3 separate regions of the Homo sapiens genome follow, and all the other regions are linked to region 3. The links are contacts of gene promoters, found by promoter capture Hi-C in blood cells and fetal thymus (Javierre and others, 2016). All regions are on one chromosome and are shown on one strand. Each heading gives the region's core, a stretch centred on a gene start or on the middle of the fragment in contact. The rest is flanking DNA. Distances are from core to core; before and after follow the strand shown.

Region 1 (4,835 bases), core at 990-3,489, 300 kb before region 3:
TCCTGCCCACCCAAAATAACTTGGCTCCCGCAGGAACCTGCAACATTGTGGCTTCCACCAGCCCTAATGGAGTGCTCCAGCCCCTGCAGCCCCCATGCCCTCACTGTGGCCAACCCCCTCCTCAGAATGGGCCTCTCCACTCAGATTTGGAGCTCTCTGATGCCAGGTCTGTGTTTTCTCCCTCAGACTGAGGGCTGCCTCAGGGCAGAGGCTGTGTCTCTCATGGATTAGAAACTCCTGGGGTATAAAGATTGCATCTCCCCACTCAGACTGGGAGCTCCTCCGAACACTCAGGTCCCTGGAGTCAGCTTCCTTGGGGAATATGGGGGTGGGGCAGGTGCCAGGTGTCCTTTCCCCCACTTCCAAGCTGTGCTACAGAGGATGCCCTTGTGGAGAAACTGGATCTCCCTCCCTCTGTGGCCACAAATGTGTCTGGCTGATGGGCTCATGTGGGGCCTAGGCTGAGCCCGGCACTGCCAGGCTGCCCTGCTGCTGACCACATGGCCCCCGACAGGAGGGTTCACATGTCCCAGCACCAGCCAGCCACCTGCTGCCTCCTGCCTCCCAAAATAAGAAAGGGCTGGCCTTCTCCCGTTACCGGCACATGCCCCACTGCCCTTGTCCTCGGGACGGGGCTTTCACTGCTCTGCTCCTTTGTGTGGGGTGTTGAGGGGGCAGCCCCTCAGCTCTGCCTGTCCCCAAAGCTGGCGACTGCACGTGGCCAGACGGAGTTGCTCTGTTCCTAGGCTGGATGCAAAATGAGGAGGGGCTCCACTAACTTCAGTGTTCCTTCTAAGGAACCAGTGTCCACTGGTCCTGTGAAGAGGGGCCCTGCACCCCAAATCCTTCCCCTTTGCCAGCACCCATCACAGCCCGTGACATGGAGTAGGGACTGAGGGTGTGGCTGTTGACCCAAGTAATTAACTACTGCTTCCTGAGGGCTGAGAAACTGAGGCTGAGAGTTTGAGAAGACACTCCTTCTAACACACACACACACACACACACACACACACACACACACACACACAGGCACAGACACCTTTTCCATTCATTTCACAAATAATGACCCTTTTCTATTATTTTAATTTTTTATCTTTTGTAGAAATGGGGTCTTGCTATGTTGCCTAGGCTGATCTCAAACTCCTGGCTTCAAGAGATCCTCCTGCCTTGGCTTCCTAAAGTGCTGGGATTACAGACATGAGCTACTTTCCCAGGCTACAAAAAACAACCATTTTTAACTGAGCACTTACTATGTCTGAGGCACTGTACTAGTGCACCCCATCCATTACTGTGTTTAAACATCACAACAGTGGTGTTTAAAGAGAATGGGGCCCAGAGAGGTTAAGTGACTTGCCTAAGGTCACACAGCAAAGAAGTCGAATTGGTATTCAAACCTAGGTTAGAACAGCATTTGTCTTTTTTTAATGAGAAATTTTAAACATTCAGACAAATGGAGAGAGCAGTACAACGAAACTACAAGTACCGATTACCAGAATAGCATAATGAACATTTTGTTTGCCAGATTTGCTTCATCTTTTCTGTGCTGAAATATTAAAAAGTAAATTATAGACATATAGCATGTCACCTCTACTCATTTAAGAATGCATCTCTAAAAAATAAACCAAATTTTCTATATAAACCAGCATGCCATTCTTACATTGAACAAAACAGTTTGCAATATCTAATATGCAGCTCATGTTCAATTCCCCCAATCGGTCCCCCAGATTTTTATCACTCTACCACACTACCATTGAGGAGTGGGCAGATGGGGTTTGGGGAGGTCTCTGCCAGTCTCTGTGCCTCAGTTTCCTGTGGGGACGCAACTCTTACCTTCTCCTCTTTTCCTTGCTGGGGCAAGGTTTCTGGACAGGAGAGTGACGGGGACCCGAGGGACCCTGTGGGGTGCTAGAAGCTGTGAGGGAGGCTCAGGGGAGCCCCTTATCTCCTGGGGTGGTGACCATGGAGTGAGGTGGATGTCCTGATGGGCCAGAGAGGGGCCATGTCCTGGCGGAAGGAACCTCAGCAGGGCTCTCATGCCTGGCCTTCCTGTCAAGGTATGGGCTGTCTCAACCCAGTGAGACCTTGAGCCTGCGACCCCCTACCTCACAGGGGACCCTCTCCACCATGGGCCCACCAGACCAAACAGCCCACCAGCCTGCCTCAGCCAAAACAGGAGCTGAGGAAGGTCAGCTTATCAGGATTCCCTTACTCCCTCACCCCATGGGCCTGCTTTTCAGCCACTATCAGTGTCTGGGGCAAGGGAAGGGGTTGACGGGACAGGGCAAGGCCATTCCCGGGGGTCACTCCTAAATGGAGAGAAATGCTATTTCGCAGGATGTTGGGAGAGTCTGGGGACCCACAGGTGACAACAAAGGGGCCTGCCAAGCAGTGGCCAGTTAGATCAGGGGTCTCTAGGCCTCCTTCCTGTCCCATGCCTGTTCTGTCCTCAGTTCATGGGGTGAGTGAAAGGACCCTGACTTAAGACAGGAGGTGGCTCAGGTGACCTCTTGGTCATCACTCCCTGAATAGGGATTGAGACGTTGAAGGTCAAGTCAGACCAGCCCTGAAGGGGCAGAGCTGAGTCTCCCCTCAGTCTGGGGCCCCATGAGAACAGGGCTGTGTCTCCCTCAGACTGAGGCTCACTGAGGATGGGTCTGTGTCTCCCCTCAGACTGGGGCTCCCTGAGGATGGGGCTGCGTCTCCCCTTGGACTGGGGATCTGTGAGGATGGGTCACATTCACCTTCCCTATCATCATTGCCCCTCAGGGCCCATTCTGCCCTGCTGGGCTGAGTGGGGAGCCCCAACTGAGGATCCCCAGTTCCTCATTGCTCCAGAACCCAGGGCAGGGCTGAGAAGAGAATGAGTTGGTTTCACCTTACTAAGAGGGGAGAGGAAATGGAACAATTTGGTGAGAGCCCACTGCTGGATGGGTTACAGAACCTGCTCCCTCTAAAGGATTTGGGCATGGAGGCAGAAGATGGAAGAGACAGCTTCCTCCTGGGCTCCCCCTTCCTTCTCTAGAACACCTCATCATCTACACTTCTTGTAAGATGCTCCTAGACACTCCTAGGCTCAGGAGCCAGGAGGTGGCTCCCAAGGGGCCCTCCACGGGCTCTTGAGCAAGCTCCTTCCCCTGCGCCCTAGTACCCAGCCTTGGACTTGCTGGGCAGAAGCAAAAGAGAGGGCTTAACCTTGAGTAGGGGCTGAGGGGAGCAGGAAGAACATGTTCCAGGGAAAACATGGAGCAAGGTTGCCAGATAAGCATGGGAGGGGGAGAGGTGGCAGGATGGGAAAAGGGTCTTCAGGAGCTCCCCCAGGCCCAAAGCTCCAAAGCCACTGACCGCTGCCCTAAACTGGACCCTAACAGGGTCTCCTTTGAGAAGGCTGCCTGACTGAGGAACTCACTCCCTTTCTTCTCCCAGGAGCCCTGAGTGTCTGTGCATCCCCTACCAGGCATCAGCCTCTCTCCCAAGAGCTCAAACACCATGCATAAGTCCTCTTGGTCCTCCCAAAGTACCTGTCAGTGGGTTTGCACACAGCAGGCACTTGATAGAGACAGTTGGCTGGAAGCTCGAAACAGAACCCTCTGATTGCAGCCTTTGCTATCCTGAGCCAAGTGCTCAGGGAGATTACCCTTTATCAGCACGTCCCTCCTCAGGAGTACCCGCAACCTGCCCTGTGCACTTCTGCTCAGCAGACCCTATCACTCTGTTCTCTTGGGTGGTTGTTCCGTGAGACAGGAGTACAGCTGGAGAGCCTAGGGGCTGAGAGCAAACGGAGCCTCAGTCTCAGAAGGGAGACATGGCCTGTCCTCAGGGATCTCCAGTCTGAGGGGAGACGCAGCCCCATCCTTAGGGAACCCCAGTCTGAGGAGAGACTTGGCCCCATCCTCAGGGAGCCCCAGTCTGAGGGGAACACACAGCCCCTTCCTCAGCATGCTCACAGTCAGTAAGGGAGAGCTATCCCTCCGCCTGCACTCACTGTCAAAGCAACATTGAGAATGGCCAGAGGAGAAGGGTTAATGGCTGAGGGCTCCCACATCAGCCCTCTCCAAGTTCCTGACACATTTCTGCCCTGTCAGGATCAGGGTGAGCTGAGTCCCTGCTCAGACTCATATAGACTTATTTTCACCTCTCAGAGCGAATATCAGGAAAGCCTGGGGTTTCTTTCACCTCTTGGAAGATTTTTTGTGGATGAACTGAGCCCCATGCCTGGCACAACTAGATGTGTCACTGGCAGCCAATTGACTCTCCGTCTTCTTTCAGCTGAGCTTACCTCAGCCATATGCCTTGATGCATCCCTGTTTTATAGATGAGGAAACTGAGACTCAGAAACTCGAGTGGATGCCCAAATGCCATAGCTACAAAATGACAGAGGTCCATTTCCGCTTGGCTTCAAATTATGCTTTCCTTCAGGCCTGAGCTCAGGAGGGGGTGGCCTCTCTGTTTTCTTGGGGTTGGAGCCCCATCTGGCCCCCCACACCTTGGCTTATACAGGGCTCATGAGTGAAGGTCCAATGGGGAGTGTGTGGATTTGCTGTGGGGTGTCTGTAGGTCTAAGTCTCAGGGCCTTTGGGGAAATGCCTTGTGGATACTTGGGGAGACCTCAGGGAGGAGTGTGGGGCAGGGTAGGGGTGAGGGAGAGAGGAAACTTTACTGGTCACCATTGTGCAGTGGGTGGGGCCTCCTGGAGCAATGAAAGAAACTATCTCAGCAAATAACAATAGGCTTTGTGACCAGGCAGGCTCTGCAAATGCTGGTAGGCTCTGCAAACACTGACAGACTCTATATTTGTTGACAGATCCACAATGGCAATAGAGGTGAGGGGAAAACAC
Region 2 (4,725 bases), core at 1,863-4,362, 320 kb before region 3:
GACAATTAATTACCAGCAGATTTGCATTAATAGGACATTTTATTGGCAGAATAAAATAATTCTAAATGGAAGAATAGAGATACAAGAAAGAATAAAGAGCAATGAAAATGGTATACATGTGGATAAATAGCAAATATATGCTACATATAAATAATAATAATAATGGTGTTTGGGAAGAGTTAAGGTTTTTAAGGTTCTTGCATTTATTTTGGGGAGAGTAAAAGAATCTATTAACATTAGGATTTGTTAAAAAGGCATGCTGTAATCTCTGGGTGGCTACTAAAAAATTATAAAAAAGTGAATAACTTCCACATTTTAAAAGGGGGATAATTAAATAAAATAATTCCAACAGAAGGCAAAGAAAGGAGAGAAAAAGGAGCATAGGTAAGTAGCACACATAGCACTTAGTATTGGTTTAAGTCCAAATAAACAGTAATTCCATCGTATATAAAATGACTATTTTTTCCCATTAAAAGGCAAGGATTTTCAGACTTATTTTGGATAAGAACCCAAATCTGGCACAGTGGCTCATGCCTATAATCTCAGCACTTTGGGAGGCCAAGGTGAGAGGATCACTTGAGCCCAGGAGCTACAGACCAGCCTGGGCAACATAGAGAAAACCCATCTCTACAAAAAATACAAAAATTATCTGGGCGTGGTGATGCATGCCTGTTGTGAGCAGTGAGCATGTAGAGAGGTGTGATCATGCCATTGCACTTCAGCCTGGGCAACAGAGTAAGACCCTGTCTCATAAAAAGAAAAAAGAATCCAAATCCAGCTACACCCTGTACATAGATGTACCTGAAATATAGAGATAAAGTAAAAGTCAAAGATAAAACATGTAACACTAACAAAAACAAAAAGCTAGTGCAGCTATGTTAAAATCAGACTAAACAGATTTTAAAGCAAAGAGCATTGCTAGATATACAGACATTTCACAATGATATAATGTTCAATTTTCCATGAAGATGTAATAATTCTACATTTGTATGCACCTGATAACTTGGCCTCAAAATACAGCTGGCCCTCTATATCTGTGGGTTTCATATCTGTAGATTCAACCAACTGGAAATCAAAAATATTTGAGGAAAAAACAACAAAAAATAATGCAAAATAAGAATAATACAAATAAAAACAGTACAGCATAATAACTATTGATATGGCATTTACATTGTATTAGATATTATAAGTAATCTAGAGATGATTTAAAGTGTATAGGAGGATGTGCATAGGTTATATGCAAATACTACATTATTATATATAAGGAACTTTAGCATTCCAAGATTTTGGTATCCGCAGGGGTCCTGGAACCAACCCCAATACTCAATTTGACACGCAAAGTCCTCTGTGATCTAGCCTCAGGTCACCTTCCTTTCATCCTCCATCTTCCACTGCTCTCCTTTCCAAAGCCTGTGCTCATTCCTCAGCCACCTTCACTCCTAGGCTCTAGTCCTTTCCCCACTATTGACCATTTTGTCTGTTGTGCCCTCTCCCACTTTCGAGAGTGACAGGTCCACAAGTCATCCTTCAAAGCTTAGCCCAAATGACACCTCTACAAAGTCTTCCCAATGACTCACGTTAGTCTTCATCTCTCCCATCATGCCCCAAACTTGGTGACTGCTAGTGGATTTTGAGGCTAGATACCATTGAAATCACCAAGAAACAGAACTCTTGGATCCTCATTATTAGAATACCTATGAGACAAATTTGCTGCTTAGTCTTGGGCCAGTACCTTATCCTCCCTGGCTCTTAGTTTCTACAACTGTACAAGAAGTACTTTGGACTAGAAGTGGTGTTTCTCCAAGGAGAATAGGGGTGCAATGCTTCACTATGCAAACTGCCTTGTCCATTGTGGGATCTAGCATGCCCGGCCTGGGGCACCCAATGCCAGAACATCTCTAATCACTATTACAATGAAAAAGACTCCAAAACATTTTCAAACACTCTAGAGACCATCTCCACTAGACTGGGTGATTCCTTAGGATCTTCCAGGTGAGATACTCTTGGAATCCTCTGGTTGGCGTGTAGGGACCACTGGTGGCCCAGAAACATGCAGAGGGCTGGACAGCGGGCCAATGGTGGGGAATAAGCTGGAACCAAGCTGGAGATGATGCCCAGGCCATATCCTGGCTCCTGAGGGCAGAACTAGTGTTCAGATTCCCAGCCTTCAAAGGGGCATGAACTCTCAAATGGCTCAGGCCTTCTTTTTTTTGAGATGGAGTCTCGCTGTGTCGCCCAGGCTGGAGTACAGTGGCGTGATCTCGGCTCACTGCAACCTCCACCTCCTGGGTTCAAGCAATTCTCCCGCCTCAGCCACCCGAGTAGCTGGGACTACAGGCGCCACCAATACACCTGGCTAATTTTTGTATTTTTTTGGTAGAGACGGGGTTTCGCCATGTTGGCCAGGCTGGTCTTGAACTCCTGACCTCAGGTGATCCACCCGCCTTGGCCTCCAAAATGCTGGGATTACAGGAGTGAGCCACCGCTCCCAGCCCTTTAGGCCTTCTCGTCTGGGGAGCTCCAGTCTGTCCTGAAGAACAGAATGCAGCGAGTAGGTGATGCCCCTGGGGAGGAATGGCTCACTCGTAGCAGGACTCTACAGGTGGGGCTGGCTGGGGCTAAGAGGGGGTCATGGGCTATTAGTGGAGCTGGAATAGCAAGCAAGAAGAGTCAGTTGTCCTATGCAGGCAATCATAGGAAGTTGGGTGGGGTGGGTAGGGGGACAGTTGTGACTTGGGCAGATGGAGAGGGCTCAAGACTGACCACTAGGCATGCCAGCAGTGGTTATGGACAGCAGAACGGTTGTGTTGCCCTCCTGCAGGGGAGAATGCAAACACACCTGGTTGTCCAGACTGGGTGGTGGAGAAGTAAGGGCAGAGAAAGTTCTCGTGTAAATGAGCATGATGAAGGGCAGCAAAGAGTGATGAGGCAACTGCAGAGCCGCCTCTCCTCAGAGGTGGTTTGTGGTGGGGCTCTGGGGGAAACCAGAGTGTTGCCCAATGTTAAGAGCTCAGAGTGAGTTTTCAGGAAGTTCTGGGAATCGTTGCAGTTGTTGATTCACTGAGTCATCCATTCAACAAGGATCTCCAGGGTTGGAATGAGAACACCCCAATCTTGTACATGTTCTGGGACCATAACTCATCTGGTGTGAGGTATCAGAGATTTGGTGACTGGGAAAAGAGGAACTTGGAAGGGGAAGAATTTGTCAGTGTTTATCCAACTGGGCCCAGTGGGGAGGCAGCTCTGAATCGAGAGAACTGGCCTCAAGCAGATGATGGGGGTCGTGACAAAGAAAGAGGGAGGAGGAAGGCTAGAAAGGATTATTTCAGGTACTGTCCCACCTGATCTAATGCCTGCAACCACCCAGTGAGCCCAAGGCTATGATTTCCCCTATTTTTCAGATTAACAAACAGAGGCCCAGTTCTTGAGTTCAGAAGGGCACTTCTTCAGGCTCACCGAGCTTGAATAGCCCTGAGAATCTCCAAACTGCCTTTGCCTCGATGTCTGCAATCTGTGGGTCTCAGATGGTGACTGCCAAAGTGGAAGGCAGTTTCTGTGTCTACTGTGGATCTTTCTGACAGCAACACCTGTCCCCACAGTAGCACCACCAGTTTTCCAGAAGTCTGGTTATATGGCTGGTGTCCCAGAATCTGCTCACCCATGGACAAACACATAAAACTGAATTTTTAAACTTTCCACACCAGAGACCAAGTCTTGGTGACTACACAATGTCAGCTAATGTGTTTTGAGTGTGTGCTATGTGCTTGGCACTGCTTTTAGCAGTTCAGATATATGAACTCATTCATTCCTCACACCAACCTGGGAGGGACATGCCTCTGTTATCCTCATTTTACAGGTGGAGAAACAGAAGCCTGGAGATGCTGAGTAACTTGCCCATAGTCTCACAGCTGACAAGTGGCCAAGAAGGATTCAAACACATGTGTGCTGGCTCCAGTGGCTCCAGAAGTCTGGTGAGGGGCTACCTGAAGCACATTGCCCCCTAGAGTTAAGGACAGCTGGATCTGGGCTCCGGAAGCCTGCAGTTCATTTCTGGCTGCACAACCAATTAGCTGTGTGACCTGAAGCGCATCTCTCACTCCCTCTCTGAATCCCCATTTTCTCCCTGGTTGAATGAAAGGATTCAACTGGATGGTCCCTAGCTTGGTTGGTTGCAGCTCTGACATTTCAAGAGGCTTCATCAGGCTAAAATAAGCACAAGAGCCACGCTGCGGTTGGGAAAGGGCAGCCTGGGACGTGCGTGCGTGGAAGCTGGGAGGCTCTCCATGGTGAGGAGGTGTAGAGGGCTAATTGCTAGTGCATGAGCTCAGCTGGAGGCCACTTTCTCCACTCTGTGCCCACAGCTGGCTGTGAGTCACTGACAGGTCACCAGCCACAGTGGGGCTGCTGGAGACAGGGCAGACCCTGAACATGGAGAGAAGACAAGTCTGACCCGGTGCTGGCCTTAGGGGGCCCAGGGGACTTGCATGCTCTTCCTAGTCCCTGCCTAGTGCTACTGCACCCTACTAGGAAGGCACCCCATCTCCATCTCCCTGAGCACAGCACCCCTTTTCATGGCAGCTCTGCCAGCCCTGGCACTCTGCCACTCAGCTCACATACACTGAGTAGCCATGCTGTGCCAGCACTGAGAGACCGAGGCAGGTAAGAGATGATCCCTGCTCTTAGGAAGCTTGCAGGCAAGGGGTCAGGGCCTGGCCATGTGTCTCA
Region 3 (4,685 bases), core at 451-2,950:
ACTCCTAATCCATGTGTCAGTCTCTACCACCTTGATTGACTTTTCTTTTAAGTTTCCCCTTCACCGGGTTTACCTTTGCTAAATGAGATGTTTTAACGTAACCCAATGCTGCATTTCTCCTGTTCTCCCTGTCTATGGTGATGCCACTCACATTTTCCATACAGCAGCTGCTCTGCATCCTCCTATTAGGGTGACGGTCCCAACTGGATGATGGGCTCCTCTCCTACTCATCAGAAAACATGCTATGTCATTTAATAAGCCTGATTTTCCCATCTTGAATCAGAGAAGGATAGGAAGAACTGAGTTGTGAATGATTTTCCTTTCCTGTGGAGCTCCAGAGGAACATCCTATACGTCTCACAAATCTGAAAGAGGAAAAACTGGCAGTTGTATTTTCTCTTTGGTACCATAAGCTTCCTTACAACACAAGTGAGTCCAACTTGTGAAAAGAGTCATCTCCATAACTGCTCTATTAACTAGCTTATGTTTATTGAGCCCTTTTGTTTTGTTTTGTTTTGTTTTGTTTTGTTTTTGAGACGGAGTTTCACTCTTGTCGCCCAGGCTGGAGTGCAATGGTGTGATCTTGGCTCACTGCAACCTCCGCCTCCTGGGTTCAAGCGATTCTCCTGCCTCAGCCTCCCAAGTGTCTGGGATTACAGGTGCCCGCCACCACACCCACCTAATTTTTGTATTTTTAGTAGATAGGGTTTCACCATGTTGGTCAGGCTGGTCTTGAACTCCTGACCTCAGGTAATCCACCCGCCTCAGCCTCCCAAAGTGCTGGGATTACAGGCATGAGCCACCACACCCGGCCGATCACTTATGTTTTATCACATCTAATCTTCAGGGTCTAGTCCTCCCCTAGGCCCTATAAAATAGATTCTACTCATTCATTCAACAAGTATATATTGTACTCTTATTATGTGTCAGGAACTATTCTAAGTGCTGGAGATGTGCGAGTCAACAGAAAACAATGTTCCTGACTTCATGGAGCTTACAGTCTGGTGAGAAGACACATACAAAACAAACATAAAACTGAAATTGTCCCAAGCACTAAGATGGAGAGGCATCTGGTGCTGAGAATGGGCAGTCAAGCAAAACTGTGGAAATAAGGTTTGAGGTGAGCTCTAAGAAATAAGCAGAAGCTAACTAGACAGCTAAAGAGCAGACAAAGGAAATAGCTTGTATCAAGGCCCTGGGGCTAGAGAGAGGTCTAAGTATATGCAAATCAAAGATCAGTGTGGCAGTGGTCAGGGAAGAAGGGGGTATCAATTCTATCCCAGGTCTGCCTGATATCCGATACTCCAGAGCCAGAGTTCCTAACCATTTCAGCCTCTCCCGTAGAGGTCTAGCCCCAGTCACAGAAGCTAAAAGTCCACAGCTCACGTGCAGTGAAGAGAAAGCTTTAAAGACATAGGTGGGGTGTTGCGTGCGATTTTCCTAAGGAAGCCTTCCAGGAAACGAATGCAACCTTGAAGACTTGTAGGCATTGGCAGACAGGAGCTAGAAGACCTCCCCTAGATCCTTAACACGAAATATAGGCTTGACGCAGAAGCCTCTCTTCGTATCCCAAAGCGGACAGGTGAGAGAAATGATGTGACAGGAGCAAGCGAACTACAACCCCGCCCCGCCGTTCCTGCCCCACCACTGCGGCGGCGGGCGCTACGTTCCGGAAGCGGAAATGGACGAGAGGTCAGGGTAGGTTTTTGAAGATGGCGGCCCTCAAGGCTCTGGTGTCCGGCTGTGGGCGGCTTCTCCGTGGGCTACTAGCGGGCCCGGCAGCGACCAGCTGGTCTCGGCTTCCAGCTCGCGGGTTCAGGGAAGGTGAGTCATGCGTCCCAGCAACCTCCTGAAATTAAGAAGAGCGGCAGAGACTGCTTCCGCCAGCCCCGGTGCGCTCCTTCCTACCTTTCCTTCGTCCGATTCTGAAACTTTGGAGGTACCGGCTCCCCAGGCGTGCTTAAAAGCCCCTTCCACACCCTGGTGCCTTATCTTGATCTCCTGCCCCTTGTGAGTATCTTCACAAGGCGGAGGAGGACGGAGAGAAAAGCCTGCTTACTTAGCAGGAGCAGACACTAAACCTGTCCTAGGGCTCAGAAAAGTTTTCGGAAAGGGTTTGCATGTTAATTCTTCCTTCCATGTTCTCCGAATCGCAGTCTCTTTTATTAAAGAGTCTCTGGATCACGAAGGAAGGCCATCTGGGTACCCTCCCAGAGCCTCCCTTTCCACTTTCCCTTCTCAAAATGCTGTGATCTGATGGCGGCGTTCTCTGCCCCGGGCCGCTAGTCTCCCTGTGAGGGGGAGGCCAAAGTGGAAAGGCCATTGAATAGCTGAGACATAGGCAAATGCAGGATGGTAGTTCAGCTTTTCATTAATCTTAATCTGGGAAAGCGGCCTGATTCGAGCATCAACTGAGAGTTTACTGAATGCCAAGTGCTATGCTTCAAGCTGTGAAGGAATTCTGGAGACAGAAAATACAGCCCTTTTTCTGAAAAGCTTAGGTTCTAATGAGATTATGTATATACACACTCCAATAAATGCAAGTTAGCCTTTTACGTGACGAAGTACAGGGAGACTCAGTTACTGGAAACGGCAAACCCAGTTGGAAGTTTTCATAAAGAGGATGTGTCTTGAGCAGGCTCACAAAAGGATGGAATCTGGCGGAGAGTGAAACGGTCTTTTAGGACATAGCCTTCCTTTGTGTACTCCTGGAAGCAGGAAAGGATGAGTGATGTGCAAAAGAAGAGATGTGGGGTTTTTTGAGGATCTGGCATAGTATTGGGCAGCATATCCTTTAACGAAAGCTGAGAAGTATCCAGTGGAAAAGAGTGATCATTGTTGTCAGAGGGAGCAGAAAAGTCTAAAAAGGGCCTAATGAAGGGGCCATTGGATTTGTCTCAGAAGAGGTCTCTTTGTAGCTTTCAAACAGCAATTTCAATAGAGTGGCAAACAAGGAATCCAGTTTGGAGAAATGAAAGAGATAGTTGATGAAGAGATGGAAATAGTAAGTATGTTTGAAGAATTTAGCCCGTAAGGGAAGTGGAGCATTTGCTAGAAAAAAAAGTCTGGATATTGCCTGATTAACTTATCCATTAGTAGACCCATTAATAAAGACACTAAAGAAATCATGCAGATGATAGAGAGGACTTGGATGTTTCATTTGTTCCCATGCTGCAAAATAGGCATATCTCCATACCATTTTGGGGAGTCTACCAAGTGTCAAACACTATTGGCTACAATTTGCATATTCTTATGAAATTCAAAGTTGAGGCAGATTTTGCTATGCTTCCAGAAAAAAAGGCAAGAGGAATCGTTTTGTTTTAACAACAAATATTTGAAGTTAGACTTAATTTTTTCCTTTGGAGAGTTTGTGAAATGATGGACTGTAAGCCAGGTACAGTGGTACATATCTTTAATCCCAGCACTTTGGAAGGCCAAGGTGGGAGGATCACTTGAGCCCAGAAATTGGAGTCTAACCTGGGCAACGTAGTGAGAACGCCCACCTCTTTAAAAAAAGTAAAAAAGGATGGACTGTAAATCAAATGGGTCTCTGAAGTCCTTCATCTAAATGTTAGGTTGAATTAATATGATTCTACATGAAGGCACTACCATATTCTATATTCTTAAGAATCACCTATCTTCAAAGCTTGTAAATGAAAACATTTTCTTTTGCTAGTCTATGCATTATGTGTAAGGCATAAAGTATTATACATATAGCTAATTTTGACTAGTCTCAGCTGGTATATGTGACACCCAAACAATATTGTACACATAGAATTTAAAGTTGTGGGAAAGAAGCTGGTTCTCTTGCTGAAAATATTCAGGCATCCTACTTTTCAAAGTATCAGATAATAATACATAATTTTAGTCAGCTCTTGAGGACTGAGCACCAATTTTCCTGTCTATGAAGACTTTCAGTCTAAAACAGTGATTTTCAACTGGGGGGCAATTTTGTCCCCCAGTAACAATTGGCCATGTCTGCAGACATTTTTGGTTGTCACAACTGGTACTACTGGCATCTGGGGGGTAGAGGCGAGGGACGCTGCTAAACATAATGCACAAGTCAGTTCCCCACAACAAAGAACCATCTGGCCCAAAATGGCAGTCCTGCTGCTGTTGAGAAAGCCTGGTTTAAAGTTTGACCAGAGAGATACACAAAGCCAAAAAAAGGTTATTATGGGAAAAGCAAGACTGAAGGAGGACGAAAATAGAAATTGTGACTTACTGTGCCTGCTTCAAATACTGTGCTAGGTTTTCCACATACATTTATTCAGTCTTCTCAAAAACACCTTAAAGGTAGATATTAACTGTCCTCATTTTTATAAATGAGGAAATGCCGTTCCAAGGGGTTTAATAGCTTGCCCAGCATCACCTGTCTAATAAGTGATGGAGTTGGAAGTAGAGCCAGCCCTCTTCCCTCTCCACCAGTAACATCACCTTGGTATTCCATGGCAGGGCCTCCCTTATTGTTCCCTCCTTCCCTGAAAGCTCTTAGCAGTTAACTTGCCAAAGACCATTTAGTGCCATTATGGTTGGCACTGCCAGATTTAGCAAAGACTGTGTTGGATCTCATTCCTCCCTTATCCCTCTTAGAGCCCTTGTGAAGGAAATGTATTTAAAATAAAAAAACAAACATATTATTATATAAATTAAGACATGATTTGTCAGACACTTAGAGAAAGGTAT

Evidence for each region. Contacts are between HindIII fragments. The CHiCAGO score rates a contact against its expected background, and 5 or more counts as called.
Region 1: a contact is called between a fragment that was not itself captured here and the fragment with the promoter of MRPS18A in region 3, in 1 of 17 cell types (erythroblasts). The highest score is 6.2, in erythroblasts.
Region 2: a contact is called between a fragment that was not itself captured here and the fragment with the promoter of MRPS18A in region 3, in 5 of 17 cell types (erythroblasts, monocytes, M0 macrophages and 2 more). The highest score is 10.6, in erythroblasts.

The regions. Positions count from the first base shown.
Region 1 is chr6:43,985,479-43,990,313 of GRCh38, reverse strand. No RefSeq gene overlaps it. Among named protein-coding and RNA genes, the nearest start is that of LINC03040, 13 kb to the left of the region's middle. RefSeq lists enhancers at 1-358, 4,765-4,835. The HindIII fragment of the contact is 5,894 bases long and covers 1-4,835 here.
Region 2 is chr6:44,010,588-44,015,312 of GRCh38, reverse strand. The region is part of intron 1 of SCIRT (stem cell inhibitory RNA transcript); the gene reads left to right. Among named protein-coding and RNA genes, the nearest start is that of LINC03040, 12 kb to the right of the region's middle. RefSeq lists a silencer at 4,593-4,725 and an enhancer at 3,882-4,725. The HindIII fragment of the contact is 3,154 bases long and covers 1,536-4,689 here.
Region 3 is chr6:43,684,806-43,689,490 of GRCh38, reverse strand. MRPS18A (mitochondrial ribosomal protein S18A) reads left to right here and starts at 1,700. Exons shown (of 6, transcript NM_018135.4): 1 at 1,700-1,823. The coding sequence starts at 1,712. It overlaps LOC124901320 (a long non-coding RNA gene), which reads right to left and starts at 529. Exons shown (of 2, transcript XR_007059586.1): 1 at 152-529. RefSeq lists enhancers at 1,330-1,941, 1,887-1,946. The HindIII fragment of the contact is 1,093 bases long and covers 1,405-2,497 here.